Regions from separate parts of the Homo sapiens genome. Here region 1 is linked to region 2. The links are contacts of gene promoters, found by promoter capture Hi-C in human tissues and cell types (Jung and others, 2019). All regions are on one chromosome and are shown on one strand. The core of a region is centred on a gene start or on the middle of the fragment in contact, and the rest is flanking DNA. Distances in the headings are between cores, read along the strand shown.

Region 1 (5,828 bases), core at 1,996-4,495, 550 kb before region 2:
TAATTTTTGTATTTTTAGTAGAGACGGAGTTTCACCATGTTGGCCGGGCTGGTCTCGAACTCCTGACCTCATGATCTGCCTGCCTCGGCCTCCCAAAGTGCTGGGATTACTGGGTTCCCACAAATTTTAAGACTTACTTCAGGCCAGGTGTGGTGGCTTATGCCTGTAATCCCAGCATTTTGGGAGGCCGAGGTGGGCAGATCACCTGAGGTCAGGAGTTCGAGACCAGCCTGGCCAACATGGTGAAACCCCTGCCTCTACTAAAAGTACAGAAAATTAGCTGGGTGTGGTCGCGCATGCCTGTAGTTCCAGCTACTCAGGAGGCTGAGGCACCAGAATCACTTGAACCTGGGAGGTGGAGGTTGCAGTGAGCTGAGATTGCGCCACTGTACTCCAGCCTGGGCAACAGAGTGTCTCCCCCTCAAAAAAAAAAAGACATACTTCAGAGTGTGGTGAGCTGCATAAGGCTTTAGAGGTAATGACATTTTGAGATTTCAATTAAAAATTTTTTTTCTACTTTTTTTTTTTGAGACAGAGTCTCACTCTTGCTCAGGCTAGAGTGCAGTGGTGCGATCTTGGCTCACTGCAACCTTCGCCTCCTGGATTCAAGCGATTCTTGTGCCTTAGCCTCCTGAGGAGCTGAGATTACAGGCACCTGCCACCATGCCCAGCTAATTTTTGTATCTTTAGTAGAGAAGAGGTTTCATCATGTTAGCCGGGCTGGTCTTGAACTCCTGACCTCAGGTGATCTGTCTGCATTGGCCTTCCAAAGTGCTGAGATTACAGATGTGAGCCACCGTGCCTGGCCACTTTTTTTCTACTTTTGCTAATTTTTTTAAAGTTTCATGAACATTATAGTACTGTGTTCATAAATGAAAATAAAAGAAACTTGCTCCAGTCTTGTTCATCAAGCCGTTCTTGACCTTCACAGTCAGAATCTCACCCATCACCTTGTCACATCTCCCTCTTGATCTGTATATCCAGAGTCCACCTGACATGCTTCTTCAGCCCTCCACATATAATAAGAAATGGTTTTGTGAGCCGAGATTGTGCCATTGCACTGCAGCTTGGGCAACAGTGTGAGACTCCTCAAAAAAAAAAAAAAAGAAAGAAAAATGCTTTTAGGTGATAAGGAAATGGAGAAGAATAAAACATCTTTGCCAGTCTTTACCTTTTTAATATCTTGAATTCATGATTTCTTGCCATAGCCACTATCCTAGTCCAGGCTCTCTCCCTTCTACCCCTGAGTTTTTTTTTTTTTTTTTTTTACCATGTTTTTATTTCCTCTGGGAAAACACCTATCAGAATTTTGGGATCATATGACAGATACATATTTAATTTCTTTCTTTCTTTTTTGAGACAGGGTCTTCCTCTGTTGCCCAGGCTGGAGTGTAGTGGTATGATCATGGCTCACTGCAGCCTTGACCCCTTCCTCGCCCCCGCTCAAGTGATCCTCCCACCACAGCTTCCTGAGTAGCTGGGACTGCCGGCATGCTCCACCATGCCCGACTAACGTTTTGCTGCTTGTAGAGACAGCCATGTTCCCTAGGCTTGTCTTGAACTCCTGAGCCTCAAGCGATCCTTCCACTTCAGCCTCAAGTGCTGGGATTACAGGCGTGAGCCACCACTCCTGGCTACTTAATTTCTTTCTTTCTTTTTTTTTGAGACAGTCTCGTTCTGTCACCCAGGCTGGAGTGCAGTGGGGTGATCTCTTCTCACTGCAGCCTCTACCTTCCAGGCTGAAGCAAGCCTTCCACCTCAGCCCCCTGAGTAGCTAGGACTACGGGAACATTCCACCAGGCCCAGCTAATTTTTGTATTTTTTGTAGAGATGGAGTTTCATGATGTTGGCCAGGCTGGTCTTGAACTCCTCACCTCATGCAATCCGCCTGCCTCAGCCTCCCAAAGTGCTGGGATTACAGGTGTGAGCAACTGCACCCAGCGGGCCCCGCCCAGACCTATTTTCAAAATTAGAAAACCGTGAGGCTTCTGGAAGAAGATGAGAAGAATATCTTCATGACCTGAGTGTGTGCAAAGGTTTCTTAGGGCTCAGGATGCCAGAGTCACTTAAAAAAGCAAAAAAAACCCAAAAAAAAAACCACACACACAAAGATAAATATGATTGATTACATCAAAATGTAATCACAGACTACTCTAAGAAAATGAATGGGGAAACACAGGGACCTATTTGACAAAAGACTGATATTCAAGATAAATAAAGAACTAATAGGCCAGGCGCGGTGGCTCACGTCTGTAATCCTGGCACTTTGGGAGGCCGAGGCGGGGGGATCACTTGAGCTCAGGAGTTCGAGACCAGCCTGAGCAATATAGTGAAACCCCATCTCTACTAAAAATACAAGAATTAGAATTAGCTGGGCGTGATGGCACGTGCCTGTAGTCCCAGTTACTCGGGAGGCTGAGGCTGGAGAATTGCTTCAGTCAGGAAGATGGAGGTTGCAGTGAGCCGAGATTGTGCCACTGCACTCCAGCCTGGGCGACTGAACAAGACTTCGTCTCAAAAAACCAGTAGGGCTCCAGGCCTGGGATTGGGCCTCTGCTGCTCTACTCCCTGGACGTGTGGCTCCGTCCTTGGAGTCGGCCTTTGGTTTTCATGAAGAGTAGTGTGCATTAACAGCTGAGTGGTTTTATCAGCCTGTTTCCTGCCAACAGTGTATGAGAGTTCCAGTTGCTTTACATCCTTGCCAGCATTTGGTGTTGTCAGTCTTTTGAGTTATTCTGATGGGTGTGGTGTGTCATGGTCTTAATTTTAGTCCTCAGTCACTAATGGTGTTTAGCACTTTTTCCTGTGCCCATGACAATGTGCATCTTCCTTTGTGAAGTGCCTGCTCAAATCTTTTGCCCATTTTACATTGGGTTGTGTGTCTTTTTATTATTGAGTTGTAGCAGTTATTTATATAACCTTTATATCCTGGTTACCTGTCCTCTGTCTGGTTGCCTATTCATTTTCTTAGAGTTGTCTGATGAACAGAAGTTTTACATTTTGATGTAATCAGTTTTCTCTTATATTTTCTTTTATAGTTACTGCTTTCTGAGTCCTAGGAAATCTTGGCTACCTTCAGGCTGTGAAGATAATCTTTCATGTTTTCTTCTGTAAGTTTTTTTTTTTTTTGAGACAGAGTCTTGCTCTGTCGTCCAGGCTGGAGTGCGGTGATGGCGATCTCCGCTCACTGCAACCTCTGCCTCCCAGGTTCAAGCGATTCTCCTGCCCCAGCCTCCCGAGTAGCTGGGATTACAGACATGCGCCACCATGCCCAACTAATTTTTGTATTTTTATTAGAGACAGGGTTTCACCAGGTTGGCCAGGTTGGTCTTGAACTCTTGACCTTGTGATCCACCCGCCTCGGTCTCCCAACATGCTGGGATTATAGGCGTGAGCCACCGTGCCCGGCCTATAAATTTTATAGTTTTAGTTTTATGTTTAAGCCTATCACCCATTTCTAGTTTAGGTGAATGGTGTGAGATATAATTAAATATTAATTTCTTTTCCATATAGATATCCAGTCATTCCAGCACCATTTGTTGAAAATGCTATTGTATTGCGTTTTGGAAATTAAGATGACTGTACAAATGGTAATTGATGTCTGCACTCCCTTTTCTGTTCCATTGTTCAATCCTTGTGTTAGTACCACACTTTTAATTACTGTAGCTTTTTAGTAAGTCTTGAAGTCATGTAGTTGTAGGTCTTCCAATTTTGTTGTTTTCAAGCTTGATGTGAATATTCTAAATCCTCTGCATTTCCATATAAATATCAGAATTATCTTTACCAGTTTTACAGAAAAGTCTGGTAAAGTTGTGATTGGGATTGCATTGAATCTATGGATCAATTTGGAAAGAAATGACACCTAAACAGTATTGAGTCTTCAAATATATGAACTTGGTGCATTTTCCTTCTTATTTAAGCCTTTTAAAATTTCTTTTTAGGCCGGGTGCAGTGGCTTATGCCTGTAATCCCAGCACTTTGGGAGTCTGCAGCGGGCAGATCAGCTGAGGTCAGGAGTTCGAGACCAGCCTGGCCAACATGGTGAAACCCCGTCTCTACTAAAAATACAAAAATTAGCCAGGTGTGGTGGCAGGTGCCTGTAGTCTCAGCTACTTGGGAGGCTGAGGCAGGAGAACTGCTTGAACTTGCTCAGGAGGTGGAGGTTGCAGTGAGCTGAGATAGTGCCATTGCACTCCAGCCTGGGCAACAAGAGCAAAACTCTGTCTCAAAAAATAATAATAATAAAAATAAAAATTTTGGGCCAGGTGTGGCGGCTCACACCTGTAATCCCAGCAATTTGGGAGGCTGAGCCGGGTGGATCACCTGAGGTCAGGAGTTTGAGACCAGCCTGACCAACATGGAGAAACCCTGTCTCTACGAAAAATACAAAATTTGCCAGGCATGGTGGCGCATGCCTGTAATCCCAGCTACTCTGGAGGCTGAGGCAGGAGAATCACTTGAACCTGGGAGGCAGAGGTTGCAGTGAGCCGAGATGGTGCCATTGCACTCCAGCCTGGGCAACAAGAGTGAAACTCTGTCTCAAAAAAAAAAAATTCTTTTAGTTCTGTTTTATGGTTTTCAGTTCAGAAGTCTTATACATATTTTGTTAAATTGATTTCTAGATATGTTTCTTACCTTTATTGTAAAATGGAGCCATCATTTGCATCATTCATTACTCTGTATGTAATGTGTTATCATTCTCTACCTGCTTTCAAGATTTTCTCTTTATTTTTGTTTTTTAGCAGTTTGTCTGTGGTGTATCTAGGTGTCATTTTATTTGTATTTATCCGGAGATTTATTCTTGAGATTTGCAGAGCTTCTTAAATCTGTAAATTTATGTCTGTCGGCCAATTTGGGAAATTTGGAGCTATTAGTTTTAAAAATATTTCTTCTGTTCCATTCTCTTTCACTTCTTCTGTATGTGAGTTCAATTTCACTTCAATTGTATGTGAGTTAGACATTTTGATATTAGCCCACAGGATCCTGAGGTTCTTTCATTCTTTTCAATCTTTTTTTTTTCTCGAAGTTTGCATTTCGTGAGCAGGAGTGACAGTCATTCAGGATGATTTTTGAGATTCCTAGTTCAAGAGTAGTTCCTATTCTTTTCTAGGTGTAGTCAAGTATGGCTTCTAATTCTACTAGAAGGCTTTTTTGTCGGGGAGGTGGTTCTATGTCCTTTGGCTCTTACATTTTCTTTGTGTCTTTCACAGCACAGTTTTCAGAGGGTACCCTTTCTCTTTGGTTTTGTTTTGTTTTGTTTTGTTTTAGACGGAGTCTTGCTCTGTCTCCAGGCTGGAGTGCAGTGGCGCAATCTTGGCTCACTGCAACCTCTGCTCACTGCTACCTCTGCCTCCCGGGTTCAAGCAATTCTCCTGCCTCAGCTTCCTGAGTAGCTGGGACTACAGGCACGCGCCACCACACCCAACTAATTTTTGTATTTTTAGTAGAGACTGGGTTTCATCATGTTGGCAAGGCTGTTCTCCATCTCTTGACCTCGTGATCCGCCCGCCTTGGCCTCCCAAAGTGCTAGGATTACAGGCGTGAGCCACCGCGCCCGGCCAACAGAGGGTACCCTTTCATTCTTTTTCTCCTTCTTCCCAGAAGGCTTGCGTTTTCAAGACTACCTCATCAAGTTCTGCATGTGTTTAAAAGTGTCTCTACCCGACCTTCCCTTCCTCCCTCCCGATTTAACGGAATTCTTTGTTGGTGTTTTCATACTTACCGTGAGTTTTCTTTTTCAGGGTGATATTTTAGTTCCATCTTAGGCTCTCCATTGTCCTCTTCTCTCTTCTTTTTTTTTTTGAGACAGAGTCTCATTCTGTCACCCA
Region 2 (5,250 bases), core at 2,751-5,250:
CAACATAGCAAGATCCCATGTCTACAAAAAAATTTTTTTTAATTAGCTGGGCATAACGATGCACACCTGTGGTCCTAGCTACTTGGGAGGCTGAGGCAGGAGGATTGCCTGAGCCCAAGAGTTGGAGTAAGCTGGGGTTGTGCCACTGCACTCCAACTGGGCAACGGAGTGACACCCTGTGTCTAAGAAAATAAAAATTAAAAAATAAATAAAATGCTCTTCCTTTCCCAACTACATATTTGTGTGGTGCTGGTTTTTCTTCATATATTCCAACCAAAAGAACATATTGTAACGGGTTGGAGAAACAGATATGATAATCCAGCTCGATCCTGCTAAGCCAAATGTTAAAAAAAAAAGTACAAAAAATGTAAACCAATGCCACTCTTCTCACCAGATTTTTTTGTTTTGGAAAATATAGTTATTATTTTTAAAATGTATTTAAATATAAAAGTTTTATATTGAAATGAATAAAATATTTTAAACATCTTAGGTTTAATTTCTAATATAGTAAACATCAATATGTATTATGCATATAAACAAGAACTTTGGGGGTTCTCAATAATTTTTTTTTTTGTGAGACAGAGTCTTACTCTGTTGCCCAGGCTGGAGTACAGTGGCACCATCTTGGCTCACTGCAACCTCCGCCACCCAGGTTCAAGCGATTCTCCTGCCTCAGCCTCCTAAGTAGCTGGGATTACAGGTGCCCACCACTACGCCCGGCTAAGTTTTGTATTTTTTAGTAGAGATGCGGTTTCTCCATGTTGGCCAGGCTGGTCTCGAACTCCTAACCTCAAGTGATCTGCCCGCCTCGGCCTCCCAAAGTGCTGGGATTACAGGTATGAGCCACCGTGCCTGGCCTCAATAATTTTTAAGAGTAAAGGCGTCCTGACACCAAAACAGTTTGAGAATCACTGGTGGAAATTATTCTTGAATTAAAATGACATTTGTTTAAGAATTCAGTAATTTTGACTTTTCCCTCTCTGAAACTAACCCTAATTAATCTGATTTTGTGAGGTTTTATTGCATTTTTTAAAAATCCAGGGACCACGGTCTAGCCAAATGATTATCAGATCTAAGTATTCATTTTAGTCTATTTTAACACTCAGGATAATAAATTTCAGATAAATAATACTCTAATTTTTTTTTTTCTGAAAAGTTACTGTCAAGGATTGTTTAAGTAATGCAAATGATCCTTTTAAACTACAGTTATACTCCACTGTTCTGACCAGAAACCCAAATACTATTGACTCAGTTTAACATTGTGTGTGCAGAATGCCCTCATAGAAGCTGATGAAACACAATTTGGATTTTTACAACAGTGATTTTCAAAGGGGTAAGCATGAGAGGTGGGAGTGGGGTTCATGTGCCCCCCCTGAGGGAAGCATCAGAATGTGAGGTGGTTGTAACTACAGAAGTTTCTTCTGTTCGCACCAGAGATGTTAATATTTGCTGCCCTTCTATTCACTGTCTTCTCTTACAGACTTCCTGCTGTTGTAAGCAACCACTACAGATTTCTCAGAAGTACTGTGGCAAATAAAAATGATTGAGAATCATTATACATTTTCTATTCTACTAGAGAGACAGTTTAAAATAAAATAGGTAAGTATAATCTGAAGAAAATAACAGGAAATAAATAGGACCAATCAAAGCTTTTAAGGATTTGTGCTTATACTGAGGTTCTATCAGGTTCTCACGCTCTGTTAATTTGAAAGCAAAACCATTACATTTAATTGAATGTTTAATAAAATGAATTATCAGTGGCTTGTTTTATTCGGAATTCCATTATTTCTTTTTCCGAATAATATAGTTTTCCAGATTTAAGTGGTAAAAATCAAAGACTTTGTTGTAAATTTTTTTTTTTTTGGAGACAGAGTCTCACTCTTCTTGCCTAGGCTGGAGTACAGTGGCACGATCTCGGCTTACTACAACTTCCACCTCCTGGGTTCAAGCAATTCTCCTGCCTCAGCCTCCTGGATAGCTGGGATTACAGGCGCCTGCCACCACGCCTGGGCTAATTGTTGTACATTTTTAATAGAGACAGGATTTCACCATGTTGGCCAGGCTGGTCTCAAACTCCTGACCTCAGGTGATCTGCCCGCCTTGGCCTCAAAAAGTGCTGGGATTACAGGCGTGAGCCACTGCACCTGGACATAAATCATTATAATAATTGTATGGAATTATTATGAATCACAGCGTCCTGTGTCTACACCCCTTTGTAATGTGACATTGTCACTCTTCTCATAAAAAATTGGAATTTTCCCACTTCTTGAATCTGGGATGGTCTTATGACTTGCTTTGACCAACAGAATATGATGGAGTGATCTTGTACATTTTGGAGTCTAGGCTTTAGGTCTTTGCTTCCACTCTCATCTTCTTAGAATGCTAAGACCACCATGCAGTGGAAAAGCTCCATCTACCAGAAGATGAGAAGCCATGTGGAGAACTAAGACTTCCCAGCCAATAGCCAGCACCAACTGCCAGACACGTAAGTGAGGCCATCTTGAACCCTCCAACCCTAGATGTATTCACGGTTCTCCAGAGAAACAGAACCAATAAGATGTGTGTGTGTGTGTGTGTGTGTGTTTATAAAGATATTTATTTTAAGGACTTGACTCACTTGATTATAGAGCTTCCAAGTCCAAAATCTGCAGGGTGGGTTGGCAGGCTGGAGGCCAGGGAAAAGGTGATGCTACAGTTCAAGTCTGAGAGCCATCTACTGGCAAAATTCCTTCTTGCTCATGGAAGGTCAGTCTTTTGTTCTATTCAGGCCTTCAGTTGATTGGATAAGGCCTACTCACATTATGGAGGGCAATCTGCGTTATTCAAAGTCCCCTGATTTGTTACTCAGAGGTGAGAAAAATCATGGTGTACTAAAGTCACCACAAAAACTTCTGTAGATCATATGGAGAAGCAGGAGAGATGAAGCTGGAGAGCAAAGCAGCAAATCAGCAATTAAAAAAGATGTTTGGAGTTGTTGAGTTTGGAGATGAAAAGTGACAAGATGAATTCTGGATTTTAGACAAAGCAATCCAACGTGTGGATGGAGAGGGATTTGAGAGGAGAAATCAGCTGTTGTCAGTAAGAGTATTTAAATTAGGATACTGGTAACGGGGATGGAGAGACACACGATTATACATGGGAAGTGAGAGCAGAAAGAATTAGGATTATTTCTTGATTTTTTTTTTTTTTTTTTTTTTTTGCTCAGGCAACTGAATAGATGAAGTCATTAATGGAAACCAGGAACACTGAAGAAACAGTGAACAATTAAAGTACTTTGAGTTATCAAAGTGAGATGTCCTGCAGGTAGCTAGACGATACTGGCTGGTAATTCAGGAGAGCTGCTGCGTCCTGTGTAAAAGGAAAAGCAATTCATGGATGGTGGCTAAAGCCAGCTGGCAGGATTTAGGGGATGGGTTAGACCTGCACTTGTTTTGATGGAGAAGAGGCGGGTATAAAGTGGCAGAGTGAGATTACTGTAAAATATCTGCATTCAAAGGGCTAAAAAAAGAGAAATGCTGGAAAGGCTACTTGCTATAAACGCAGCAGGGTAGGTTAAAACAAATTACGAAGCACGGGCGGTGAGGCGCGGTGCTTAAGATTAAGCCCGGCGTGTTTTCGAGTGCACTGATACACAAAAGGGAAAGGGACCCTCCTCACCGGAAGCACAACCTCTGCCCTCTGGGGCATTACACATTCCTCCGCGCCGGAAGAAAGCGTCACGTCGCGTCGCGCCTCGCCCCGCCTCGTTGCGCCTCGCCCCGCCTCGCCCCGTCGGCTTCCCTCAATCCGTACCTCTAGTAAAGAAGAGCTTGTGCCCCTCCCCGACCCCTTACCAAGGGCGAGCTGCGTGGAGTCGTTGGACTGGGCAGAACTTTGGCGGGCAAGGAGACAAACAGCCACACTGTGCTGCCGGGGAAGAGAAGAAGAAGGAAAGGCCAGACACACAGGCGTCGTGCAGCTGCGGAAGGATTCCGTTTCCTGCAGGGGGCGGAGGGATTTGACAGCACGGTAACTTCCGGAAAAGTCCTGAACCTCAGTGGAAAAGCCTTGCAAGAAACAATAACAAACGGGAGGAGGAAGCGATTCTGGGGTTTCTGTGTTGAACGGTTCTTGTCCGCGAAGATGCGCTTCGGCCTCTGTCAGGGGACTTGAACGGGCTTAGTGGGCTTCAGCCAGCTTTTCTCCACCGGTTCCCCACGGGGACCCCCCCCCCCCCCCGGCCGTTGCAATGGCGGGCGTGGGGCCGGGGGGCTACGCGGCGGAGTTCGTGCCACCGCCAGAGTGCCCCGTCTTTGAGCCGAGTTGGGAGGAGTTCACAGATCCGCTCAGCTTTATCGGCCGCATCCGGCCTTTGGCGGAGAAAACCGGCATCTGCAAAATTCGGCCGCCCAAGGTACCTCAGTCTGTGAAGAGAGAGGGGGAGAAGGAAGAATGGGGGAGTCCGTACACTGGGTTTAGCTTTACTTTTCTGATCCTTGTCTCGTTTCATATGTACTCTCTTTTGAGACAACTGGAGCCTGTTTCTGGATGTTTTTGCCTCGGTTTCTTTTGTGGTCTTATGTAGACACGTCTGAAAGCGAGAAAGTGGTGTCTCTTGGGCCTCTTCCGCCTAGAACTTGGGAACTGATACTTTTCTCTCAGCCGTGGGCCTAAAGCCTTTCGTTAGCCGATATGGTGTTTAAAGTACAGTATTATGACGTGACGTATTCTTCCCTCACGTATCCTCATTATGGTTTGATAGTCGGCTATCTCTTTATTCAAGACCTGGTTGGATCAAATATTTGCAGGCCTCATCTCAGGGCTAGGGTTTCTGAAAAGGTTATCTGAGCTCTAGTCTCACCGGATGGTATTACTAGACAAGAACTCCAGACTAATTATTGCCGCAGTGAAAAAGTCTTAGCGGGGAAAGAGAAGGAGCAGCAATAATTCTAAAATTTAGAGGTTTAGGAAAAATTGGTTTATAGTGGAGGTGGAAGGAAATGTTGAAATCTCTTGACGTAGGGAACTCAAGATCAACGATTTTAGAATCACAGTTATTGCAGATAACTAGGTTTGCCTATAAGGTTAATTATAATCTCACCTTTGAGGTAAGGAAAACAGATACTATCCCTTGTGTGGAGGGGATTAATGCCCCAAGAGGTTGAGTGATTACTCAAGGTCAAAGGTGTTTTTCTTTACTCATTAGACCAGTGCTTTTTAAATGATGTTGCTGGACCACTTGCACCAGGGTCAACTGGATGCTTGTTTAAA

The links. The method cuts DNA at HindIII sites, captures the fragments that hold promoters and counts their contacts. A contact is called where the count stands out against the background at its distance.
Region 1: a fragment that was not itself captured here is called in contact with the fragment with the promoter of KDM5A in region 2 in 1 of the 25 tissues and cell types used here (spleen).

Annotation. Positions count from the first base shown.
Region 1 is chr12:940,049-945,876 of GRCh38, reverse strand. The region is part of intron 1 of RAD52 (RAD52 DNA repair protein); the gene reads left to right. Among named protein-coding and RNA genes, the nearest start is that of RAD52, 6.7 kb to the left of the region's middle. The HindIII fragment of the contact is 3,456 bases long and covers 1,518-4,973 here.
Region 2 is chr12:388,070-393,319 of GRCh38, reverse strand. It overlaps KDM5A (lysine demethylase 5A), which reads left to right and starts at 4,000. Exons shown (of 28, transcript NM_001042603.3): 1 at 4,000-4,393. The coding sequence starts at 4,229. It overlaps LOC105369594 (a long non-coding RNA gene), which reads left to right. Exons shown (of 4, transcript XR_007063149.1): 3 at 1,481-1,599; 4 at 2,379-3,287. It also overlaps a transcript of CCDC77 not described here. RefSeq lists an enhancer at 3,543-3,837. The HindIII fragment of the contact is 14,723 bases long and covers 1-5,250 here.